Linked DNA regions of Homo sapiens: region 2 is linked to region 1. The links are contacts of gene promoters, found by promoter capture Hi-C in blood cells and fetal thymus (Javierre and others, 2016). All regions are on one chromosome and are shown on one strand. Each heading gives the region's core, a stretch centred on a gene start or on the middle of the fragment in contact. The rest is flanking DNA. Distances are from core to core; before and after follow the strand shown.

Region 1 (5,958 bases), core at 1,667-4,166:
CCTGAGCAACATGGCAAAACCCCGCCTTTACAAAAAATACAAAAATTAGCCAGGCGTGGTAGCCTGTGCCTGTAGACCCAGCTACTCGGGAGGCCAGTGCAGGAGAATTGCTTGAGCCTGCTAGGTGGAGGTTGCAGTGAGCCGAGGCCATGTCACTGCACTCCAGCCTGGGTGATGGGAGTGAAATCCTGCCTCAAAAAAACAAAAACAAAAACAAAAACAAAAAAAAAAACTGGAACATAGCACCAGACAAGTAAATGTTTCCATTTGCTGAGCCTACTATGTATATGAACTGTCCTAGGTGTCTGACATACATTATCTTATTTAGATCTCACTGCAACTCTGTGTAGATAGATCTATTAGTATGGAATATTTAACAAATGAGGAAAAAAGATGCAATGATAGGTTAAATCTAACTAATTTTTTTTTAAGACAGATTCTCATTCTGTCGCCCAGGCTGGAGTGCAGTGGCACAATCTTGGCTCACTGCAACCTCCACCTCCCGGGTTCGAGCAAGCAATTCTCCTGCCTCAGCCTCTGGAGTAGCTGGGACTACAGCCACACCAACACTCCTGGCTAATTTTTGTATTTTTAGTAGAGACAGGGTTTCACCATGTTGGCCAGGCTGGTCTCAAACTCCTGACCTCAGGTGATCCACCCACCTCGGCCTCCCAAAGTGCTGGGATTATGGGCGTGAGCCAGTGCACCCGGCCAAATCTAACTAATCTAAATCCAAGTAAGGCCACGTAGTTAAGTAGCAGAAACAACTGAAATTTAGATCTGGGCTGGGCGCAGTGGCTCACGCCTGTAATCCCAACACTTTGGGAGGCCGAGGTGGGTGGATCACCTGAGGTCAGGAGTTCGAGACCAACCTGGCCAACATGGTGAAACCTTGTCTCTACTAAAAATACAAAAATTACCCAGGCATGGTGGCAGCGCCTGTAATCCCAGCTACTCGGGAGGCTGAGGCAGGAGAATCACTTGAACCCAGGAGGCGGAGGTGGCAGTGAGCCAAGATCGTGCCATTGCACTCCAGCCTGGGCGACAGAGCAAAGACTCCGTCTCAAAAAAAAAAAATTTTTTTTAGATCTGTTTGGCTTGAAATCTAGCAGTGTCTACTGGTCTACCTTCCTTCCTCAGGGCTCCCAGGGACATCTAATAGTGACCTTGAAATCACTTTTTAGTCTAAACTAATCTGGGCCAATGGTTGAGCTGGTAACCTACAAAAGTGTTCCATTATCTGCCTTGAGGGTACCAGGTCTGTCCTGATTTGTAAGTATTTTTTCATAAATTTTGCTCAGAAGAACTTCCTAAGCAAAACTGTGTGTGTGTGTGTGTAATTCATTAACAGACCACCTCTGTAGAAGGAATGTCATGTTCTCAGTTTTTGCCTTCGAAGAGGTACTTTATTTTTTAAAGGAGGTCATAGAAACCTTTGAGAAGAAAGTCATGAATTGGTTCCTTAGGGAAAAAAAAACAGACTTATTTGATTAAAAAAAATTTTTTTTTGAGATGGAGTCTCGTTCTGTTGCCCGGGCTGGAGTGCAGTGGCATGATCTCAGCTCACTGCAACTTGCCAGGTTCAAGCAAGTCTTCTGCCTCAGCTTCCTGAGTAGTGGGGTTTACAGGCGCGCACAGCCATGCCTGGCTAATTTTTGCATTTTTAGTAGAGATGGGGTTTCACCAAGTTGGCTAGGCTGGTCTCGAACTCCCAACCTCAGGTGATCCGACATCCTCGGCCTTCCAAAGTGCTGGGATTACAGGCGTGAGCCACTGTGCGCCGTGGCCAAAACTCTGAAAGTGTCTTATAGTAGAAACTCGGTATAAAAGATCCTATCTCGGCCAGGCGTGGTGGCTCAGGCCTGTAATCCCAGCACTTTGGGAGGCCGAGGCGGGTGGATCACCTGAGGTCAGGAGTTCGAGACCAGCCTGGCCAACATGGTGAAACCACATCTCTACTAAAAAAGAAATACAAAATTAGCCGGACGTGGTGACACATGCCTGTAATCCCAGCTACTCCATAGACTGAGACAGGAAAATCGCTTGAACCCGGGAGGCGGAGGTTGAGGTGAGCCGAGACCGCGCCATTGCACTCCAGCCTGGGCAACAAGAGCGAAACTCCGTCTCGGGGAAAAAAAAAAAAAAAATAATAATTTTCCGTTCTGATTCCACTGATCATAAATTGAACTCCTTTGTAGAACAGGTTTATCATCTTTCATTTAAAAGTAATAAAAAATCACGAATCATTTATATCAGGAAATTAGTGGAAATTTCCACATTTTGTCTTTGGGCATGTGATGGTGGTGAGGAAACTGGGGAGACCGAGGTAATAGAAGTTGCTGCAAAGCCAACTCCAGGATCCTACTATCTCCTTCTGGAAAGGCCCTTACATAATTTCCTTACTTTTCCAATAAAAGGCTGTATATGTCTTGCCCCTTAACTGATTTTACCAACTTCACCATAAATACAACTGCGGATGAAGGATGAGAAGCAACAAGAAACCCCTAAGGATCCGCCAAATAATTAGGGCTGCCCCAGGGGAATCCGAGCGAAAGAACACAAGAGCCCCTCTTCCTCCTCGCCTCCTCTGGGACACACACTTACCCTCCCTCCCGGCAGGTTAGCCCGCAGCCTCCTCCTTCCCTAACACGTGCTCTCCGGAACACTCACTCTGGAGACATCCCACCCCCGGCGGGGCTGGGCTCGGGAGCCGAACGGACCAATCGGCACGCGCCTTACAGCGTCGTGGCCCGACAACGTTGAGCAGCCCAATCGAGGGGGCCTTGCCGCCCGTTTCCCGGAGCCCCGCCTCTCGCCGCCGCGCCCCCGCCCGCCGGTCTCCTCCCTCCTCCTCCTCCCGTTTGCCCCTCCCCCGCCGCTCCGGAGCGGAGCCTGCGAGACGGAGAAACTGGGGCAGAAGTGAAGATGGCGGCGGCAGCTTCTCGCTAGTGACGCGCGGTGCGGGCTCATCTCCTTCCCCTCCTTCCTCACCTCCCCTAGTCCGGACCCCGTCCGCCGCCGGGACCAGACCGTCCCCGTAGCCCGCAGCCAGCAGCCGCCCCTCTCCTCCCCCGGCCGCCCCTCTCCCAACGCCCGTCTGCCGCTGGCCGGCGGCGCGCCCCTGGTCCCGGCCGCCTGCCTCGCACTCCGCGCTGTCGCCGGGGGAGCGGGTGGCGTGTGGATTCGCCCTCCTGCCCGCCCCTCCGGGCCGCGGACACACGCCCGGCAGGGAGGCGGCGGCGGCCCCTGCGTATTTGCTTCCCTCCATTTGGGGACTGGGAGGCGGCGGCGGCTGTGGGTTTTGGGGAGGGGTAGAGGGCTGGGGGGCGGGCGAGAGCGGGAGGGGGCCGCCCTCGAGTGGAGGACGAGAAGGAAAGCACCATGACGTCCATCCATTTCGTGGTTCACCCGCTGCCGGGCACCGAGGACCAGCTCAATGACAGGTAATAGGGCTGGCGGGTCGGCGGGCGCGGGGGGAGGGGCGCCCTTCCCTCCCTCCCCTCCCCCACGGGCCGTGCCGGGCGGGTGCGGGTGTTTACGCGCCGGCCGGCCAGCTGGGGTGGGGTGCGGGGGTCCTTACTGCCTCCTGCTAGGCTCCTTCCGGGGCAAACTTCTCATCCCGGGGGCAGGGGGCCGCGGGGGGAGCGCGGTGTAGACGGGACTCGCGGTGTAGACTGGAGAGCGCTCTGTAAACCCCCTTCCCCCTCCCGCAAGGAGCGGCGTTGAACTCGGCGGAGATGGGGGGGTGGTTTCTGGCTCCCGGGGGGCAGGCGGTAATTACTGCCCGGCCAAGGCCCGAGGAATCCATATTAGTCAAAGTTGAATTGAGACAGACAATGCGGATGGGGGATGGTGGAGGTAAAAAGAGAGGGAAGAGGAGAAGCGGGGCCAGGGGCCCCGGGGTGGGCTGGGCTGGGCTTGTCCCGGGCCCCCGGCAGCTGTGTCCGGTGGGGTGGTCTGGACCTGGGGATCCCGGGGTCGGGTTGGGGAGAGAAGCCGATTCCCGGCAGATTGCTGGGAGCGGGCGGGGGGTGGGGGGAAGGTGATAGTTGGGGGAGGGAGTGAGGGAGGAAGCGCCATGATTATTGTTATTATTATTAAATTTGAGCCCCTGCAGTGAGGTTTGCCTGCCCCGGGAGGGGATGGATTCAAGCGGGGGTGGGGAAGTGCATTGGATTCCCTTTACTCTCCTCCTGAAATGGTGCTGGCAGCTCCTGCTACTAGCCCCTGTGGTGCGAGCTTTTTTGTTTCCTTTTCTATTCTAATGATAGTGTTTTCCTGAGTTGTAATTTGACAGCTGAAAACCGTGCGTAGAGTGTCAAAGGAAAACTCTTACGTTTGCAGTTCGCAATGCTGCTTTTCTTAACACGCTGTAAATTTCTGGGTTGGGTTTGCTATGGGCGGAGGATGAATTATGATTTTATTTTATGTTTTGTCTTTTATAGGCTGTTTTGGTTTGGATTTCTCCTTTTCTTCCGCCACCGTTCCTTGCCAGTTTAGGATATTGAATTGCAGTGCCGCATGCTCTCAGGGAACTGAGATAAGGCAGGAAAAGTTCCTTCACTGTTGGAAAACAGACTCAGGAGGTTGAGGGAGGCCTCCATTAAAGCATGTCTTAGAATCTAAGACTCAGATCTAATGATGGGCTAAATGTTTACAGGATCACAAAGTGGAGCATTTTAAGTCTTCCTCTCTCCCAGTACTTCACTGCTCTCTACATTTCTTTTGCGTATAGAAGGCCATCTGGTCCCAAGTTTAGAAGTTACATAGAATTTTTGCTAAGTGACCGGGTGACTTAAGTTGCATGATGCCCTGTTTGTCATGCGCTTCCCAGAGGGAGGAAGAGGCCTAACTTGCTGCTGAGATACTGGCCTCTTGTGTCAGTGTATCTAACCGCCTCAAGTGGAGCAGACAGCTTTTAAATCCAGAGCTGGCGGTTTAGTTTCTGCACTTGGTTCGGATTTGCCTAATCTTTGCTGTAGCCATATTGTATTTAACATGTTTGGGAATCTTTTGAAATACTTACTGAAAATACTAACTACTCAGAGTTGTCACATAGTTCCTTTAAATTCTGAAATAACTTTTTAGTTATTTAACATTTTGTTATGTGGTTCTTAGCCTGACTTTACTTCATTAAAGATCTTTTGGAGACATTAACATAAAATTTTTTGGTAAAATTTAGAAACAGGCTAGTAGTGAGGATAGCTCTACGGTCATTAACAGAACCATGTTGGTAGTGCTTGTCTTGTTACTTAGAAAACCGCACCAGAGAGAAGAGAGGTAGGGCATGTTTTCTATATTAGTCCTAACTTTATGTACCAAGAAACCTGACTAGCTTACTCAGTTGGCTGTGCATGCCAAAACCTATTTTGCGGTTGTGTTGGGCACTTTGATTCATTTTTGAGCATTCCTTTTGCTTCAGCTATTTGAGAAATTTACAAGTAATGTATCTTTTTAAATGCTAACTCTTCTTTTTCCATTCCTAGTATAAACAATCAGCTTTGTTTGATTCTTCTATCATTATACAACATTAAAAATATTTAGATCATAGTGACTTTTAATTTCATGAAATTAGGAAAAAAGTAGACTTGAGTCATAACATGTGCATCAAGGTGGCAGATATTTGAAAAATAGAAAGGTGCCGTAGGTGAAATTATAAAGAGCTATATGGTTGTATCTAGTAGCGGTAAACATGTCTTGCCTTTTGAGATTTGTGAAGGCAGCATTTAAGATAGGCACATATCCTAAGTTTTGAAGTAGCTGATTTGTGGCAGGAGCTGTTCTGTGTTTCCCTTTCAAAAGGAGGGCTCCTTTTTGCATACCTACTTGTAATAGGATCAACCTGTCACTTGAGAAAAATCTGTTTCCAAAAGAGACTGGTTTTCTGGAACCTTTTAATTAACTAGAATAAGCGTATTTTCATCTAAAGATAAAAACTTTACCAAGTTTTAGTAAGTT
Region 2 (6,102 bases), core at 1,273-3,772, 440 kb before region 1:
CCTGGATCTGTGCTGATTTGAGGCTATTTTTGTCTTTACTTATCCCATTTAGTGTTAATATTCCTAAATTTTGCTTCAGAAATATTGTGGTTGCAGGGTGCTGACTCATTCTCCTGAAGAATATTACATAACATATGTAAAGTATGTGTACTACATTATGGTTCAAAATCTGGAGAATTCTGAATTCACAAAGATACCTAGTCCCAAAGGTTTCTTGACTAGAATTTGTAAAATTGGCAAGAGAAAATTCCGCATTCCAGAAATGTGTTATCCTTACAAATCAATAAGAGTTTGCTCTATTGGACACCGAAATCCTGGGGTTAATTTTCTGTAGATCAACAATATTATTTGAAAACCATTAAAAGGAGTTAAAACAGCTTCATGGAAATTATTTGGCCCATAGCATTGCAAAGCATGTAGCTATATGAACTCTGCTTGAACTGGTCCACTAGGATTCCCGTGCAGGTAGTCTGAGATCCAGAATTGGCTTCAGAGTTAGGTTTTAAATCAACCACCTGAATTTTGATGGAATAAACTAAGTATCTGGAAATTTTGGAAGTTGCTTACATAATCCTTTTCTTTCATAATTTAGAATGTGTGTATGATGTAGTACGCAAACACTGTAAAAATGTCTTAACAAAATATTTTAAGGTCAATATCAAAGATTAATGGGCCCCTAATTGTGAAAAAGTTTTTGTGAGCCTTTTGAGAAATCCCCTAGGCCAGGTGAGGTGGCTCACACCTGTAATCCCAGCACTTTGGGAGGCCAAGGCGGGCGGATTACATGAGGTCAGGAGTTCAAGACCAGCTTGGCCAACATGGTGAAACCCTGTCTCTACTAAAAAAAAATATAAAATTAGTCGAGCGTCGTGGCAGGTGCCTGTAATGCCAACTACTCGTGGGAGGCTGAGGCAGGAGAATCACTTGAATCTGGGAGGCGGAGGCTGCAGTGAGCCGAGATCGTGCCATTGCACTTCAGCCTAGGCTACAACAGCAAATCTCCGTCTCAAAAAAAAAGAAATCCCCTAGGTCTTGATGCTGGAGTAAAGGTTTTCCAGTGGGCTAGTTTTCTATTTATTTTGGTTGTAGGTTTAATTATAATTAATGAATTAGCCTAATGGAAAATATTTTAAAACTTAAAAAGCTAAGTTTGCTTCTCATAGTGGATCCAGTGATGTGGTCAGATTCATTATCACATACCCTTTAATGTTGTGCAGTATGGAAAAGGGATTCAGTTAATTGATTTGCTTAAATGGGCTCTTAACAAGTTTGCTTTAAAAAGTTTTTTTTTTTACCTGGTTGTCATTAGTCGGCTCTATATATTCATGTAGGAACTTCAGAAGAACATCAGCATTTTAAATATTCACATTTTGTCTCCTAATCTTTAGTATTTACACATGCCTTAGTAGGAGCTCCCTACCTAATTAGGATTATTTTAACTAGGGAAAAAAAATATATATATATATATATATTTTTTTTTTTTTTGACAGAGTCTCCTCCTTTCGCCCAGGCTGGAGTGCAGTGGCACAATCTTGGCTCACTGCAACCTCCGCCTCCCTGGTTCAACTGATTCTTCCGCCTCAGCCTCCCAAGTAGTTGGGATTACAGGCACCCACCATTATGCCCGGCTAAATTTTGTATTTTTGTGGAGATGGGTTTCACCATGTGGCCAGGCTGGTCTTGAACTCCAGACCTCAGGTGATCCGCCCCCCTTGCCTCCCAAAATGCTGGGATTATAGGCGTGAGCCACCGCGCCTGGCTGGAAAGATGTTCTTTACGAATTTGCTAGTACTCCTTCCTCATGTTTCACTGTAAGTTATCAGTAGGAAAGGGAGGTTGTCCGCTGGGTGCGGTGCCTCACACCTATAATCCCAGCACTTTGGGAGGCTGAGGCCGGCAGATCATCTGAAGTCAGGAGTTTGAGACCAGCCTGGCCAATATGGTGAAACCTTGTCTCTACTAAAAATACAAAAATAAATTAGTTGGGCATGGTGGTGCACGCATGTAATCCCAGCTACTAGGGAGGCTGAGGCCTGCTTGAACCCGGGAGGCGGAGGTTGCAGTGAGCCAAGATGGTGCCACCGCACTGTAGACTAGGAGACAGTGCAAGACTGTCTCAAGGGAAAGGGAGGTTGTTGACCCTGACTGCAGAGAAAGGGGAAAATTTCAGTTTTGATATTTGGTACTTTTTTTTCTTTTCTCCCCCCACCCCCCGATTTAATTTCTCACAGATGATATTTGGTACTTTAAGGATACTGTGATATGAGCAAATGTAACAGAACATTCATTAATGGCGGTTGATACTCTTTGACCAAAAAGATGAGTAAAACCACTATCGTTGAAATACACAGTCTGTATATCCCCTTGGCATACATAAAGTAGAGTCAATGGTGTGTCAGTGCTTGTGTAAAGTAGCAGAAAAATATTCTGTAAAAGCACAATGTGAATACTAGCATATTAATGGATAAACAAGGTTTTAGAGACATGGTATTTCTTGCTTTGAGCAAATTTAGCATTTTTTTTAGGAAGGTCAAAAAGATTGGAAAGCAACGTAGACCAGTTTTTTCTTTCTTTTTTGAGACGAAGTTTCGCTCTTGTTGCCCAGGCTAGAGTGCAGTGGCGCGATTTCAGCTCACTGCAAACTCCACCTCCCGGGTTCCATCAATTCTCCTGCCTCAGCGTCCTGAGTGGCTGGTATTATAGGCATGCACCACCATGCCCGACTAATTTTGTATTTCTAGTAGAGACAGGGTTTCACCATATTGGTCAGACTTGTCTCGAACTCCTGACCCCATGATCCGCCTTCCTTGGCCTCCCAAAGTTCTAGGATTACAGGCATGCGCCACTGCGCCCGACCATAGACCAGTTTTTAAACGGGATAAATGGCTTTTGCATTTATTACAGAGGTTAGTTTAGCTGAGAAAATTAATACTGACTACCAATCTGTGTGTTCCATCACAGTCTTCACCCAACCTGATCTTGTTTCAGAGTTTTCCAGTTTGGGTCTCCCCATACCCCACCCCAGGTAAACCAATCCCTTTTGCGATATTTAACTTCCATTAGAATAAATGAGATATTGCATCTATGAAAAAGGCTTGTAAACCTTAAAATCTAGTATATGGCAGGCTACTGTTCTAAACTGGCCATTGTTCAGATAAGCCTAAGGAGACTCTTCCAAGTTGAAGTGCTTACATACTGGTGAGGCCCCAGGGAGCACAGATATTTTGTCCTTCCTCCATTCCAGGGACATCCATGCCCAGTCAAATCAAGCAATTTGTCACAAGTTAACTAAAGCAGATATTTAGCTCTCCTTTTCGTTAATCCACTGTTTTTTACATTATGCATGAGTAGAAAATACTGTGTAGCATACTGGGTTACGGGGATTAGGATAGTCAGGTTCAACCTGCCCAGGCCATAGCCAGCCATCATGAGGTCCAGCCACGTTGTGCATGCCACCACGCCCTGCTAATTTTTGTATTAAAAAATTTTTTTTTTACTATTATTTTTTTGAGATGGAGTTTCACCTTTGTTGCCCAGGCTGGAGTGCAGTGGTTCAGTCTCACTGCAACTTCTGCCTCCTTAGTTCAAGCAATTCTCCTGCCTCAGCCTCCCAAGTAGCTGGAATTACAGGCACACACCACCATGCCCAGCTAATTTTGTATTTTTAGTAGAGACAAGGTTTCGCCATGTTGGTCAGGCTGGTCTCGAACTCCTGACCTCAGGTGATCTGCCCTCCTCAGCCTCCCAAAGTGCTGGGATTACAGGCGTGAGCCACCATGCTTGGCAGTATGAGCTTTATGTTGACTTCAGATTACTTTTTATCTGCTTCTTGCTCTTTACTGCAAGGATCCTCTGATGCCCAGTTTGCAAAGATCTCCTAAACAAGTATGGTATCTTCTTAGCTCATGTAGGTTCAGCATGAACATGTTATATTTGGCATGACCAAAGGTAGGATGGGGTTATCCTGGTATGTTCAACATGGAAATTCTGACAAAACAATCACCCCAAAAATAATACTCCTAATGAGAGGTTTGCTATCCTAAATTCATGAAGAGCTCCTTCAGATAAATAAAAGGCAAAAACAAGAAACTGAGCAAAAGACTTGAAAACTGTTTGCCACTAACAATCTAGCAGTTCCAGTCCCAGGTATAGACTGTAGTCCCTAGATCAGTGCTACTTAAACTGCCAGCCAGTGGAATAAGGACTCTAGTACTAGAATGTAAAGTACCACATTGCCCAACACTGTTTTAGGGTCACATAGAAGAATAAAACCATTAAGTAACAAAGGAATGATGATTAGAGAAGGTCTAAACAAATTCTAAGGGAGAGGTACAGGGGCCTCTGAGATATTACATCTTATTTCTTTCTTTTTTTTTGTTTTCTGAGACAGTCTTGCTCTGTCACCCAGGGCAGTGGCGTGATCTTGGCCCACTGCAACCTCCACCTCCCAGGTTCAAGCGATTCTCCTGCCTCAGCCTCCCAAGTAGCTGGGATTACAGGTGCCCACCACCACGCCCAGCTAATTTTTGTATTTTTAGTAGAGACAGGGTTTCACCATCTTGGCCAGGCTGGTCTGGAACTCCTGATCTCATGATCCACCTGCGTCAGCCTCCCAAAGTGCTGGGATTACAGGCGTGAGCCACCATGTCCGGCCAGCATCTGATTTCTTAATAACCTGCTTAACTTGGTCTTGGTTGCAATTACTGTATTGCACATGTATTCTATATGTTTTCCTTGGGTGAGTAGTGGACAGGCAGGCAATGAGCTCTGCCTTAAGGTAACCAAAATAGTGTGTCTCTTTAAAGGATTATTCCCTATGCTTAATTGTAATCAGGAAAGCTAGAAAACTTGAAATTAATATGATTGTGTACTTCATGTTGTATTGTAATAGTTATCTTTAATGTTATCACATCTTAATTGCCAAAAGGGATATAAATATTTCACTTGAGTGCAGGTACACACACACTTTAGTACACACACATTTTCTCCAGAAAAAAAATTTAGTCTTCACATTGAATAGTCAAGACATTTTTAAGGGAGTCTAATTGTGTTAATTCCACGTGCAAAAATAATATTGCTGTGAGAATTGTGTATTTTGTTTTCTCATTAAGCTACATTTTAATATTTATGGTGAGGCAGTTCATTGGGCAGTCTTTACACAGGCACTTCAAACTTAGCCTGTTGGGCTTATAACTTTTGGGATTTTTTGCCCCCTTATATATTTCCTATTCATTCTTGTTCTTCTCTTTTAAAATAAATCTTTAGCAGTCACCTTTAGTCTTCTTCCTCTAAGGTTACTCAGTTTTTTCAACCTCATCACCTGAAAAATAAGTTTAGGGGTATGCATTGTGATTACTGGCTTTCTTATTGAAGCAAGCCTTGTCCTGATTTATCCTGAGTACTCAATGTAGGCTGTTGTTATTGTCTATCACTTATTTTGGGGTCCAGGGTGGCAGAAGTTTACCTGATCTTATGATCACTAAATTTATAGGATTTCCTACCAGTTTCAGTATATAGCTTCCTGGAATTCTTTTGTAGTGTTTCAGACCTACTCAAGGTCTCACATCTATGGTAGATGTCATTCTTTAGAAGCTTCTAGTGCTCTTCTGGTCAATTACTTTTAAAGGTATTCTATGTGGTAAGTAACATTTTCTGTTGTAGGTAGAATGCAGAGGGGACTTAAGCAACGTTGTATATTTTTAAAGCTGTGAGCTGGGTGCTAAGTCATCAAATGCCTATGTAAAAATAAAAGTAGAAATGCACCTAGGCATCTTCAGAGTAACAGTAATAGTGTAAATTTCAGAATATCTTTTCTCATTTTTAATGAGTAAAAATCCTTTTAGAAAAATGGTTGATGTATTAAGGTTGGGTTTCCTGCTTAGGTATCTCTGAAACAGTATTCTCAACCTTTCAGCTCTCCCTGTTCTACTTCCAGGGAGGTCTTCACTTCAGAAATCCAAGACTCATATTCATCCAGCTTGGTGTCAAGTGGGCTGTTGCTGCCAGAATTATCTTGTGATTATTTGAGAGATGTATCAGTTTCTTCTGAAGTACAATCAACTGTAGAAGCCTTTGTAGCAGGTGTGTAACAAGGCAAGTGCC

What was found. Contacts are between HindIII fragments. The CHiCAGO score rates a contact against its expected background, and 5 or more counts as called.
Region 2: a contact is called between a fragment that was not itself captured here and the fragment with the promoter of UBR5 in region 1, in 1 of 17 cell types (fetal thymus). The highest score is 5.1, in fetal thymus.

Annotation. Positions count from the first base shown.
Region 1 is chr8:102,409,658-102,415,615 of GRCh38, reverse strand. UBR5 (ubiquitin protein ligase E3 component n-recognin 5) reads left to right here and starts at 2,916. Exons shown (of 59, transcript NM_015902.6): 1 at 2,916-3,443. The coding sequence starts at 3,382. It overlaps LOC105375683 (a long non-coding RNA gene), which reads right to left and starts at 3,277. Exons shown (of 5, transcript NR_168428.1): 1 at 2,605-3,277. RefSeq lists enhancers at 1,502-1,551, 1,652-1,761, 2,323-2,592, 2,967-3,745, 3,746-4,524 and 2 more and silencers at 2,743-2,942, 2,973-3,052, 3,113-3,552. The HindIII fragment of the contact is 11,584 bases long and covers 1-5,958 here.
Region 2 is chr8:102,849,978-102,856,079 of GRCh38, reverse strand. All of the region lies in intron 2 of AZIN1 (antizyme inhibitor 1), which reads left to right. Among named protein-coding and RNA genes, the nearest start is that of AZIN1, 11 kb to the left of the region's middle. The HindIII fragment of the contact is 6,144 bases long and covers 1-5,594 here.